Linked DNA regions of Homo sapiens: region 1 is linked to region 2. Evidence: promoter capture Hi-C in 16 types of primary human blood cells and fetal thymus (Javierre and others, 2016). All regions are on one chromosome and are shown on one strand. Each heading gives the region's core, a stretch centred on a gene start or on the middle of the fragment in contact. The rest is flanking DNA. Distances are from core to core; before and after follow the strand shown. Region 1 overlaps SF3A1 (splicing factor 3a subunit 1). Region 2 holds the start of CASTOR1 (cytosolic arginine sensor for mTORC1 subunit 1).

Region 1 (6,663 bases), core at 1,880-4,379, 43 kb before region 2:
ACCTCCTGTTTTGTAGGGTCCAGTGTCCATCAAAGTCCAGGTGCCCAACATGCAGGATAAGACGGAATGGAAACTGAATGGGCAGGTGCTGGTCTTCACCCTCCCACTCACGGACCAGGTATGGGTACTGCCAGAAACTGGCATCAGGTGCATGGGAACCAAGCATTCAGGGGAAAGCTTCCTCTAGCTGGCCTTACCAAGGAGTTGAATGACCGCTGCTTGATCCCACAGGTCTCTGTCATTAAGGTGAAGATTCATGAAGCCACAGGCATGCCTGCAGGGAAACAGAAGCTACAGTATGAGGTGAGTCAGTTTGTCCACAGACCTGTCCCTTGGGTCCTGACACCTCTGCTTTCACAGAAGCTAAATCTGTCATGGAAGCTAAAAGGGGAGTGGAGTGATATCTGGGTGTGGCCATCTGAATCCATCCTAGAAGTCATGATGCTGGCTGGGAGTGTTGGGGCAGGTGTGCCCAACAATGCAAGGCTCTGGTGGGGTCACAGTAGAGTCTTGTGTGGGATCTGTAAGATTCTTTGCCTCAATGACTGGGCATAGAGATTTAGTGACAAGACTTAGGCATGCTCTGGTGGGTTCCTGATCCAGTGGTTGGGCCATCCCTGCCAGTATGACCTCAGGCAGCCTGACTTGGAGGTGATAGTCTAGCCCCGCCTGATGCCAGGTCACATGGAGGCATTAATGTTCTTCTTCTCTGAACTTGAACAAATCCCTGCTCTGGGCCTCAGTTATCTCTATCCATTGAGGCTGTTGGGCTAAGTGATCCCTAAAGGTCTTGTGATTTCAGAGTCAGAGCTCCATGGAGTTGGTGAGGGGCCAACTTTTTGGGGAGTTGAGCTTTTGAGTCAAATGTTGACAAAGGGGAGGAGCGTAATTGGTGGGAAGAAAGGAAACAGTGGGAGGAATGAGAGGCCTCCAGTCCCCAACACCCTACCTTCTCACAAGCTCCTGTATTTGCTAAGTCCAGAGCGCAAACAGACCAAGTGCACAGTTGTAAGGTTGCAGCGGTATCCCCAAGGCTGGGTTGCCCCATGCTAAGGCACGCTGTCTGTTTTCCAGGGTATCTTCATCAAAGATTCCAACTCACTGGCTTACTACAACATGGCCAATGGCGCAGTCATCCACCTGGCCCTCAAGGAGAGAGGCGGGAGGAAGAAGTAGACAAGAGGAACCTGCTGTCAAGTCCCTGCCATTTTGCCTCTCCTGTCTCCCACCCCCTGCCCCAGACCCAGGAGCCCCCCTGAGGCTTTGCCTTGCCTGCATATTTGTTTCGCTCTTACTCAGTTTGGGAATTCAAATTGTCCTGCAGAGGTTCATTCCCCTGACCCTTTCCCCACATTGGTAAGAGTAGCTGGGTTTTCTAAGCCACTCTCTGGAATCTCTTTGTGTTAGGGTCTCGATTTGAGGACATTCATTTCTTCAGCAGCCCATTAGCAACTGAGAGCCCAGGGATGTCCTACAGGATAGTTTCATAGTGACAGGTGGCACTTGGCTAATAGAATATGGCTGATATTGTCATTAATCATTTTGTACCTTGACATGGGTTGTCTAATAAAACTCGGACCCTTCTTGTGAAATCAGTTAAATAAGACTTGTCTCGGTCACCTGTGCCCTGTCCAGACTCGAGGCAGTGGTAACACTGCACAGTGCTATGTGGCTTCTCTTTGAGGATTTTTGGGTTTTGTAACTAAATTCTTGCTGCCCTCATACTTTTTATGTATTAGAATCATATTCGTATTGCCCTTTTAAAACATTGGGATCCTCCAAAGGCCTGCCCCATGTATTTAACAGTAATACAGGAAGCATGGCAGGCACCATGCAAACCAAGGATGGATGGTGCAGTCCCTGTGTCAGTGGGCGGTGGTTTCCTGCTGGCCTGGAATCACTCATCACCTGATTGATTGGCTCTGTGGTCCTGGGCAGGTGCCTCATAGGTGTGTGGATATGATGACGTTTCTTTAAAATGTATGTATTTAACAAATACTTAATTGTATTAAGGTCATGTACCAAGGATTTGATAAAGTTTAAATAATTTACTCTCTACTTTTATCCATTTTATCCATTTTAACTCATGTAATCCTCATGTGAGTATTCCTGTTTAACACTTGAGTAAACTGAGGCACAGAGAACATAAGTTGCATGCCATAGTCACACACTGTGAAAGTGAAAAGAGAATGTGTGCAAAACACGTCACAGTCCTGGTTTCTGAGTAAAGGCAGGCTGTTATCTTTAGAATCAAGCTATCACAGGGAGATAGGCAATGCTGTGGGTGTTGGAGGAAGGTGAGAGCCTGTTGCTAACAATTTCCTGGTTTTAAAGCTAAGGCTGATTTTATTGGGAAGATCTCACATGTGTGTGGCCCCTGAGAGTTCCCAGTGCCTTTTATTTGCAGTCCTTCCATTTGGACCTCCTAGCTGCCCCATCAGGTCATCTCCAGGGCTCAGAGGGGTGAGACCATTTCCCAAGGTCACAGAACCAGCTCTCTAGTCACCACCCTGCCTCTCCCTCTCACCCAGAGTCAGTACCAGTTTTATGGCTTTATTACAAACTGCTGGGTCCCTCCCATTTTCAACTTGATTGATGGGATGTCATCCCTTATCCTGTCTGACATTTGCCTCTGGCCTGGTTGCTAGAAGTTTGCCCCAGGGGCAAGAGTTGAAATTTGGCTTCCTGAGGTGGGCTTTGTGGTTTGCGTCCCTAAAGTGAGCCCACTACTGGTTGCTTGTCCATGGCCAACACCAGAAATCCCCTGAGCACTACCTGGGTCTCATTCCAAGAAGGAAGAGGGTCAGGAGACCTGGGGAGTCTCATATTCCAAGTTCTTCTTTCTTTCTGGGAGCAGTGGGCAGTTCATGGTGTTAGGGCACTCACCCCCACAGACTGGCAAACCCTGCAGGACTTCCGTGGCTGAGGCTGTGACCGGAGGCCAGGAATGCCGTTGGGTGGATTGTGAGTGAATGGGCCCTTTGAGCTGCCCTCTAGAGAGCAAATCCAGTTTCCTGGAGCTCCTGAATGAATATCTGTACTGGCTCGCTCAGATGCAGAAGCTCCATTGACCATGAGGCCTTGTGAACATCAGTGGCCACAGGCCCAGTGTGCTGCTTGGCACTGCACTAGTTTAGGACCTGCAGCATGTAGGTAGCGTCCTAGTGTTTATAATACAAAGCTGCTCTGCACAGCTTTTCTGATTCTTCTTGCAATCTCCTGAGGATTATCTGCCCCATTTTTAAAACGAGGTGGAATACCCAAGGTCATGTAGCCAGTGAGTGCTCTGGAAAGCCAAAGCAGCTCATCCCTTCCTGGGGACCACACTGCTCTGCTCCACCAGACCACACTATGAAATAGGAATAAGTGCTCCTGTTGCAGGACTGCTGGGAAAACAGGTGGTGTGGGACTTAAGTCACCATAATTTTGAAGACTTGCATGCAGAGGGCTCCAGGAATTGTAGACATTAAGGAATTTCACTTTCAGTTCTACCCACTACTTAAGTACTTGTCATGTACTCTTAGAGGAGGCCAGTAATGATCAGAACCATTTTACTTTAAAATTAATAATATTGTATTAGAGAATATATTAAATGGTTATATTGGGTTATGTTAGGATATATACTTGAATGGAAATACATGTACTATTAGCAATCATATTTCATTTATCCCTGTAATTAGACAAGAAAGCATAATATAGCTCTACTCATGGGTACACATACCAGTGTATAAGATTTTTAGAAGTTTACTTTTTAAAAATAAAAGCAAAATGTAAGATCTTAAGAGTTATGATCATTAACTCTACCAGATATGGAGATTTGCTGTTAACTATTCTGTATTGTTACATTTTTTTAATTCTGCATTGTTGCCAGGTGTAGTGGCTCACACCTGTAATCCCAGCACTTTGGGAGGCCGAGGCGGGCGGATCACCTGAGGTCGCGAGTTCAAGACCAGCCTGACCAACATGGAGAAACCCTGTCTCTACTAAAAATACAAAATTAGCCGGGCATGGTGGCACATGCCTGTAATCCCAGCTACTTGGGAGGCTGAGGCAGGAGGATCGCTTGAACCCAGGAGGTGGAGGTTGTGGTGAGCTGAGATAGCACCATTGCACTCCAGCCTGGGCAACAAGATTGAAACTCTGTCTAAAAAAAAAAAAAAAGGCTGCATTGTTATATAAAAGAACACTGCCTGGTGAGTTCCCTGACACCATGCCCTGACACTGCTCCCAGCATGTAAGTGAACAATTCTAGGTACCCCTGGACACTACAGTCCATGAAGCAGGACAAGATAAACTCCTGCCAGGCACAGTGACACACCTGTAGTTCCAGCTGCTTGGGAGGTTGAGGTAAGAGGATTGCTTGAGCCAGGAAGTTCAAAGTCAGCTTAGACAACATAGTGAGAACTCATCTCTAAAAAAGTTTTTTTAAATTAAAATTAAAATAGATCATTACAGAGAATACTGTTATAACAGGTGGCAGGTGCCTGTAATCCCAGCTACTTGGGAGGCTGAGGCAGGAGAATCTCTTGAACCCGGGAGGTGGAGGTTGCAGTGAGCCAGGATCACACCACTGCACTCCAGCCTGGGCAACAGAGCAAGACTCCGTCTCAAAAAAAAAAAAAAAAAAAAAAAGGGCATCTGGACTTTTGCTCATGGCCAGTGCTCACAGGTTTCCTGAGCACATGCCAACTGCACATTCCAGGATCCAGGAGAGGGGCCTATGTGAGATCCTCAAGCCCAGCTGTTGGGAATGACCCCAGCAGGATGAGACTCTGGGATATCAACACATTCTATCTTCAAAAGAATGTCTCCAACAGCCAGTTCACCAGGATGTTCCACAGCATTGCCTAAGGCCTCTTAAATTCTTTATTCCAGTGAACCACGTGATTCTGCAGGGCTCCTTTCTGATCATTTATTCATTGGTTCACTGTTGCCCTTGCTTTCTCACTCCAATCTAACAACACAGCCTCCTTCTCCTTCAAGGGGAAAATCATCTGCTGCCATGCTTGTACACTATTCTCAGTCCTGCAGAAGGGGTCCCTCATTTTCAGCCCATACCACCTCCCCAACACCTACTCCAGCATTCTCCATACCTTACCTGGCTTTATTTTCTTATTCTCACTACCTGATAGATGTTCTGTGCTTGTTCATGTTGTCCCTCCTCCACTGGACTATAAACTCTATTGGGCCAGGACTTCATCTCTCTTATTCACTAGAGCAAGCTCGTCCAACCCATGGCCCAGGAGAGCTTTGAATGTGGCCCAACACAAATTTGTAAACTTTCTCTTTTTTTTTTTTAGACAGAGTCTTGCTCTTTCGCCCAGGCTGGAGTGCAGTGGCGCCATCTCGGCTCACTGCAAGCTCCACCTCCCGGGTTCACGCCATTCTCCTGCCTCAGCCTCCCGAGTAGCTGGGACTACAGGCTCCTGCCACCACGCCCGGCTAATTTTTTGTATTTTTAGTAGAGACGGGGTTTCACCGTGTTAGCCAGGATGGTCTCGATCTCCTGACCTCATGATCCGCCCTCCTCGGCCTCCCAAAGTGCTGGGATTATAGGCATGAGCCGCGCCCGGCCCCAAATTTGTAAACTTCCTTAAAACATTATGAGATTTTTTTTTGCAATGTTTTTTAACTCATCAGCTATATCGTTAGTGTATTTTATGTATGGCCTAAGACAATTCTTCTTCCGGTGTGGCCCAGGGAAGCCGAAAGGTTGGACACCCCTGCACTAATGTCTGGCTCATTATAGGTGTATTAAATAAAGAACTCTGGAGTTTGGCCAGGCATGGAGGCTCACGCCTGTAATCCCAACAATTTGGGAGGCCAAGGCGGGAAGATCACTTGAGCCCAGGAGTTCAAGACCATCCTAGGCCACATAGTAAGACCTAATCTCTACAAAAAAATACAAAAGTTAGCAATTTCACACAAGGACACCCAGTTGTTGAGGGGCACAGCCACGAAGTGAAGTCTCCCAAGCCACGTGCCATAGGTTAAATTGGGCAAACTCCCCCGCTGCAGCCACAGGCTGTGATGGGGAACACTCAAGACAATAATGAATTTGCAATTCCTTTTGCAAGCTTCAAATGCCACCACTCCTGGCCATTATTTATTTATTTATTTATTTATTTATTTTGAGATGGAGTCTTGTCTGTCACCCAGGCTGGAGTGGTGTGATCTCTGCTCACTGCAACCTCTGCCTCCCAGGTTCCAGCGATTCTCCTGCCTCAGCCTCCTGAGTAGCTGTGATTACAGGCGCCTGCCACCACGCCCAGCTAATTTTTGAATTTTTAATAGAGACGGGGTTTCACCACGTTGGCCAGGCTGGTCTCGAACTCCTGATCTCAAGTGATCCACCCACCTCAGCCTCTCAAAGTGCTGGGATTACAGGCATGAGCCACCGCGCCCAGCTCCTGGCCATTATTTACTGGGCTTCTCCATGTGCCAGGTGTTTAGCGCATACTGTCACACTAAAGTCTCAGCACAATTCTTCCAAGGAAGAATTTTTTCAGAATTTCCAATTTATAGATGAGGAAATGGGCTCAGAGAGAAGTAATTTGCTCAAGGTCACAGAGCATAAATTCAAATCCTGGTGGTTTGATTAAAGAAAATTAGAAGCTGAAGCATCACTGGAGTAACATCTATACAGTCTCCTAAAGATGAACA
Region 2 (6,820 bases), core at 3,265-5,764:
CCCGCTCCTCTATATGACAGAATGGTTCATGTGCGCCTTCTCCCGAACCTTGCCCTGGAGCTCTGTGCTGCGTGTCTGGGACATGTTCTTCTGTGAAGGTACTGGGCTGGGCTTGGGGGGAGCACCCCTGTCCCCAGCAGCCCACAGTGGGGCCTCTCTTTGCAGAGAAACCCCAAAAAGCTTCCTTGTACTTACTGCCCATCCCCCATGCAGGGGTCAAGATCATCTTCCGGGTGGGGCTGGTGCTGCTGAAGCACGCGCTGGGCTCCCCTGAGAAGGTCAAAGCCTGCCAGGGCCAGTACGAGACCATCGAGCGACTGCGGAGCCTCAGCCCCAAGATCATGCAGGAGGCCTTTCTGGTCCAGGAGGTACAGCCCATGCCTGCCCCTTATCATGGGGAGGGAGGAAGACAGGTGGGGGTCCTTTGAAGGGGGTCCCGCTAACCCTCAGCCCCTGAGGGTGGATCCTATGCCAGGACCATTGCTAGGCAACACAGAACATGTGGGTGGACCTCATCCTTCTGTCTGGTGAAGAGCATGGGGCACAGAGAGGCTTGGCTCTGCAGGGCCTTCTGGATCCGAGCCGCTTGGGAATGAAGAAGAATGTTGACCCACGGCCCCGTCTTCCTCCCTGGTACCCCATTCGCAGCCTTGGCTCTTATTTCTCTTTGTTCTTTCTTTATGGATACTTGTCTCTCAGGGGCAATTAGGTGGAACATGCGTGACCAGCTTTTACACATGAGGAAATGGAGGCTCACAGAGGCAGAATCACTAAGCAACTCCCCTTAAAGTCACCCACCCAGGTGGAGCTGGAATTTGAGCCTAAGCAGCCAGGCTGCCCTGGGCAGCGGTGGGTGACAGGTTGGCAGAGAGCAGGTTTTTGTCTGTCTGGGTCTTACCCCTTTAGCCCCATAGTCAGGCAGGTGGACTCGTGAAGCTGTGGGCAGCTTTATCCTCTGAGGCGGTGGGTCTCAAGTGTCCAGCTCACCTGGCACTCAGCTGTGGGGCTCGTGACTGCAGCTTGGGACTAGACCCTCATCCTTCCTGGGGTCAGTGTTTAGTGGCCAAGGCTGGGGGATGCTGAGGAAGACTGGGGGCCCAGGCTGGGAGGCAGAAGGGGAAGGTCCTTCTTCTTGGTGTCCACTTGCCTGTGTCACTGCCCCTGCAGGTGGTGGAGTTGCCCGTGACAGAGCGCCAGATTGAGCGCGAACACCTCATTCAGCTGCGGCGCTGGCAGGAGACCCGGGGTGAGCTGCAGTGCCGCTCCCCGCCCAGGCTGCATGGTGCCAAGGCTATCTTGGATGCAGAACCTGGTCCCCGGCCTGCCCTACAACCTTCACCATCCATCCGCCTGCCCCTAGATGCCCCCCTCCCTGGCTCCAAAGCCAAGCCCAAGCCACCCAAGCAGGCCCAGAAGGAGCAGCGGAAACAGATGAAGGGGAGAGGGCAGCTGGAGAAGCCCCCAGCCCCAAATCAAGCCATGGTGGTGGCCGCTGCAGGAGATGCATGTCCCCCACAGCATGTGCCCCCGAAGGACTCAGCCCCCAAGGACTCAGCCCCTCAGGATTTGGCTCCCCAGGTCTCAGCCCACCACCGCTCCCAGGAGAGCTTGACGTCCCAAGAGAGTGAGGACACCTACTTGTAACCCTGGCAGCTAAGGCCTCCAGGGCGGGGTCTCCATATAACTACACGGTTCATGAACTGACATTCCACATCCTGCCCACCCTCTGAGGGCCAAGCTGCCTGGCCACTGGGCTGGGCTGGAGTCTGGCTGGTCCAACACAGATTCTGCCTGGTCCAACACAGATTCTGCCTGAGCCTCCTTATTTATTTTCTTTACAGTGGCACTCAGGCTGGCCCAGCCAGGGCAGGCAGAAGCTAGGGCCTGGGGGGTGGGGCCTCCTTCAGCCCCCTCCTCCTGGGGGATGCTCCCCAGGGTTAGGGTGCTGGTGTGAGGGGAAAGGGTGGGGTGTTCTTTGTGTAAAATAGAAACATGGTTTTGTACAGAAATAAACAGCCTTGTATAGAGAGCTCGTGTACAGCTAGGGGCTGGGAAGGGGGTACCACCTTGGTCACCTTGGTGCTCAGCATCTCTTCTCTTTGCCCTACAGAGCCCCTTCTCCTGGGCCCCAGCCCAGCACCAGAGCCTCTCTGAGAGGTACCTTTGCCAGAGGACATGCCAAGTCCCTGGTCAGCCCCCATTCTTAACCCCCATTTTCACTCACCCCATCCCCACTGCCTTATGTCTACCTTCTGCCACAGATGAGGGACACCAGGGCTGGAGCTCAGTGCTGGGCAGAGCAGGGCGTGCTCCCTAGGCCTTGGTCCTCACCCACCCACCAAGGGGGCAGGGACTCCTAAGGAGGAGGTTTCAGGGTCTTCCTCCTTCAAGTCCTGGCCTGGATGCTACCTCAGGCTCCAGTAAGTTTCTGAGAGCTGATTCTGGGTTGGGGTCAGGGACGGGGCCCGGAGTGGAGCACCACGAATGTCCTCACAGGCTCAGCCCAGGCCCTCAGGGAGGGGGGCGAATTGTGGTTCTTTGATAAAATGCCGCCTTCGATTTACTGCCAAGTGCCAGGCTGGACTGGTCAAGTAGGCTCCATTAGCCCCATTTAACAGACGAGGAAACAGGAGCTGAATGGGAAAGCCTCAGCCGGATTTGCACCAAGAGCCCCTCACTCAGCTTCCTCTCCTGACCAGGGCTCCAGGAGACCTGACTCTGCCCTTGAGGGCCCAGGCAGGCACTGCGGTCACAACCTGATGACTGGTGAGGGCAAGGACAGGGTGTCCCTGGGAGAGGCCCCCCTTCTGCTGAGGAAGCAGCTTTTCCAGTCAAACAATAGCGCTATTCCTGGCAGATGACCAAGCTGGGCCAGGCCAGGCCATAGCGGGAGGGGGCAGGAGAGGGAGGAGCAGAGCCTCCCTGGGAGCTTTCAGCCTTCGCCTGGGCCTGGAACATCCTGTCCTGGTACAGCTGGGGATACTGAGGCCTAGGGAGGTGAAGGGTTTCAAGAGACTATCAGGGTAGGCCACTCCACTTCCTGCCTCCTTCCCCTCAGCCCCATGGTTTCCCACTCTGTCTGCACCTGCCATTGATGAGATGGGCTCAGCCTTTGAGAAGCTCCTCCTTCCCCTAGTCCTCCAGGGGATAGGCCAGGATGTGGTGGCTACATAGTGTTTCACAGGAATGTGTCAAGCCCGAGAGTCCAGGGAGGAGGCTTAGCTTGGCTTCCATCTGCCTATGGTGGGGGCTCCAGAGCAGGCAGAGGGCCTGCTTAGGCCTGCTGGGTCCCAATCAGGCCTGAGGCCTGCTTTAGTCTACTTGGTTCAAAGCCTCACATCTGAGGCCTCAGGGTGCTCAGGCCAGGCAAGGGTCCCCTGGAGCATTCTCAGCCCTGCATGGAGCCAACATGGACATGCTGATGCCTGCTTAGCCTTGGGGGGGTCTTAGACCTGTGAAGGCCTGATAAGATCTGGGGTGTCTGCCAGTGCCGGGGGCCTCCTTGAACCTGAAGCAAGTTTAGATGTGCACAGGCTAGCTAAGGGCTGCAGGCTTTGGGGCTCAAGTTTCAGGCTTGAGGTCTGAGTACTCACTGAACCTCAGCTGCAAGGGCCTCCCCCACCAAAGTCTGAGCACTGGGCATTACTGGCTCAAGCACTTCCGGGTTTTGTTGGTATCGAGGGACCTCAAGCCTTAGGCCTTGGCCACCTGCAGCCCCCTAACCCAAAGTATGTCGCTCAGGCAGAGGTGGCTAGGATTCTACCTCTGTGTGCCCCTGGTGAGGAGCCTTCTATTTTGAAAGTTGGATGAAAGGAACAAGTGGGGCTACCAGGCCAGGTTTCAATTTGTCAGCCCCCTCGCAAGCGGGGAAGGGTAGGTATCAATCGCAATCCTGTGTTGGCGGCCCTGCCCCCTGCAGCCATGAGAGGCAGGAGAGCGAAAGGCGCCCGGGGGACAGCGCTGCACAGCAGACCTGTGCCTCTCATTGCTCCGGGGATTTGGGGGCAGCGTTCTGGTCCTAGCCGAGCTCCAGTTTGTTTCGTGTCCCTTCTGTCTCAAGGACTTCAATCATGAAACCCACGTGTGTGCCAGAAGGACAGAAACGTCCCCTCCGGGATGCTCCCACCGGCTGCGCAGCTGGCTTTCCGCGGAAAGGGCGGAGCCCAGGGAGGGGGCGCGTCAGGGGCGGGGCCTGGAGGAGTCAGACGGGGTGGGGTCTATCCCCGAGCCAGTACTAAAAAAGGCGGAGCCGTTCGGGGCGGTCTCGGTGGGCTGGCTGGAAAGCGGGATGAGGTTCTGGCGTTAGGAGGAGGCGTGACCACCCAATAGGCTTCTCTTCCCGCGGGGCGTGGCCGTCAAGGAGCCGGACGCCGCGCCTGGCTGGGCGGGTCAGCCTCGCAGCGGGCGGCGTGGACGCGGCAGCGCAGCGGCTCCTTTAAGGCTCGGGCACCACCCCCGCCGCCCCGCCTCCCGTGCGGCCTGGGTCTAGTTGGCGGCGGGGTCGGGTCCGCGCGAGCCGCGATGGAGCTGCACATCCTAGAACACCGGGTGCGGGTGCTGAGCGTCGCCCGTCCCGGTCTCTGGCTCTACACCCACCCGCTCATCAAGCTGCTCTTCCTGCCCCGCCGCAGCCGGTGCGCGCCCGGGTTCGGGAGCGCAGATAGGGGCTGGGGGCTCTGCTCTCGCTCCGGGCCAGGGTCGGAGGATTAGGATCGCCGTAAGGCAGGCAGGCAGGCGGGCGGGAGCGGGTGGGGAGGACTCTCCCCGTCCGGCCGCCATCCGGCCTGGGGGACCGCCGCCTATCCGGCCCCGTGAGGCCCCCTCCCAGGGGCAAAGCGCAAACAGCCTGGGATGGGCAATGCTTAACTCAGTAGTGTCAAATGGGGGCATTCCTACCTGGTCACTGCGGGGAGCTCCTTCCAGGACGCCTCCCTTCATGTCAGAGGGGCTGGACTAGGGGGTCCAAGGTCCGACGCCCCTGGGGCTGTCGCCGCGGGTGTGAACCTCTCCTCCCTCCAGGAGTGGAGGGGTGGAGGGTTCCTGGAGAGGTCGGGAGGCCGGAAAGTAGCCCCCAACCCCCGAGATGGGGCTAACATCCCATTGGCCTGGAAATTAAAGGCCGAGAGGGCAAGAAGGCGCCCGGCCCAGGGTCGCGGGGGTGTCTCGGGGCAGATGGAGAGAAATCCACTCCCGACCCCTAGTTCTCCACACCAAGCTGAAGATGCTCCCCACCCCCAACCAGGTGCAAGTTCTTCAGCCTGACGGAGACCCCTGAGGATTACACGCTTATGGTGGACGAGGAGGGCTTTAAAGGTGGGGGTTGGTCTGGGGAACGGGAGTACGGGAGGGGCTTGTCGTGCTCCCCTTCTGTAGGGTTCTCACCAGTTGCTGGGATCCGTCCCAAGAGCTTAAGCCTTAAAAGCAGATGGGTCGGGGTTCGAATCCTACTCCACCACTCCCTGGCTGTGTGCCCTTGAGCAAATCACTTTCCCTCTCTGAGCTGTTTTCTCTTATGTAAAATGGGTATAGTTATGGTTCTGATACATAGGGTCCCATGAGGCCTTTATAAACTTAAAACCGCTGAGGGGCACTCAGCAGTCTTAGGCCTGCAGAAGGGCCTCTGTTATGATTCCAGTCAAGTGCTGCTGTTAGAAATCCCTGGGTATTATTTCCTCCTGGTCTTACTCTCTGGTTTGGGTCACCTCCTCCCCTGCTGGTCTGGAAACTCCAGGAGTCTGAGGGAAGGAATGCAGGAGCAGGCAGCCATCTCAGGGGAGGGTCCTGGAGGCCTCCTGGCTGTGCTGGGGTGAATAGCAGCCACCCAGGCCCTGGCCCCAGCTCAGGACTGGACGCCAGCCTGGGCCCTCCCTGGGGCCTGGAGCTGACGCCTAGCTCCTCCTCCTGCTGCTGGCCCTGCCCATCCTCACAGGCTTGGAGTCTCAGGCCAGCTAGCTGGAGCTTAGCCTGTCCCCATGCTCCACTGCAGGCCTTAGTTTCCCTGTTTTTACTTCAGAAGTCTGGGTCTGCAAAAGGGGAAGGCAATCCCCCAGCCAACCTGATCTGCGAATGCCCCCTGGTGGTGCCATGTGGTACAAAGCTTCTGCTAACCCACAGAAGACACCGTAGTGAGGTAGATATTGTCGTCCCATTTTACAGATGAGGAAACTGAGACTCAAATCACCCACCCCAGGTCATAAGACAAATTAACAAAGCTGGGATTTGAACCCAGGTCTGTCTGAATCTGGACCTCTGATCTTAAGTGGGAAGTTTCAATGCCACCAGGCCAGCACTTGAAGCCTTTCTCAGTCTTTGCACACATAGGGACTTCAGGAGCCCCAGCCTCCAGACCTGCCCTTACCTTGATGGAGCCCTCCAAGGCACAGAAAGGGAAACTGAGGCTCAGAGAGGGGCAGGGGCCAGCCTTGTAGACCCTGACCTGACATGTCCCCTGCCCACAGAGCTGCCCCCATCTGAGTTCCTGCAAGTAGCTGAGGCCACATGGCTGGTGCTGAACGTGTCGTCTCACAGCGGTGCGGCAGTGCAGGCTGCTGGGGTCACCAAGATCGCCCGTTCGGTCATCGCGCCACTGGCCGAGCACCACGTGTCTGTGCTGATGCTGTCCACTTACCAGACGGACTTCATCCTGGTGAGTTTCCTGCTGGTGCTGATGCAGAGCAGGGTGGATATAGGTACCTGGGAGCCCATGTGATGTGCCATCTGCTGTGGCCCAGGTGCGGGAGCAGGACCTGTCCGTGGTGATCCACACGCTGGCCCAGGAGTTCGACATTTACCGCGAGGTGGGCGGAGAGCCTGTGCCTGT

The links. The method cuts DNA at HindIII sites, captures the fragments that hold promoters and counts their contacts. A CHiCAGO score of 5 or more calls a contact.
Region 1: a fragment that was not itself captured here is called in contact with the fragment with the promoter of CASTOR1 in region 2 in 5 of 17 cell types (naive CD4 T cells, total CD8 T cells, naive CD8 T cells and 2 more); the score reaches 7.3 in naive CD4 T cells.

Annotation. Positions count from the first base shown.
Region 1 is chr22:30,329,107-30,335,769 of GRCh38, reverse strand. SF3A1 (splicing factor 3a subunit 1) reads left to right here. Exons shown (of 16, transcript NM_005877.6): 14 at 17-118; 15 at 232-303; 16 at 1,075-3,782. The coding sequence ends at 1,176. Among named protein-coding and RNA genes, the nearest start is that of TBC1D10A, 5.5 kb to the right of the region's middle. The HindIII fragment of the contact is 5,900 bases long and covers 180-6,079 here.
Region 2 is chr22:30,287,199-30,294,018 of GRCh38, reverse strand. CASTOR1 (cytosolic arginine sensor for mTORC1 subunit 1) reads left to right here and starts at 4,514. Exons shown (of 9, transcript NM_001037666.3): 1 at 4,514-4,634; 2 at 5,243-5,313; 3 at 6,459-6,646; 4 at 6,732-6,820. The coding sequence starts at 4,522. TBC1D10A (TBC1 domain family member 10A) reads left to right here. Exons shown (of 9, transcript NM_031937.3): 7 at 1-98; 8 at 214-368; 9 at 1,168-2,029. The coding sequence ends at 1,644. RefSeq lists an enhancer at 3,197-3,256 and silencers at 4,137-4,576, 4,777-4,856. The HindIII fragment of the contact is 5,917 bases long and covers 183-6,099 here.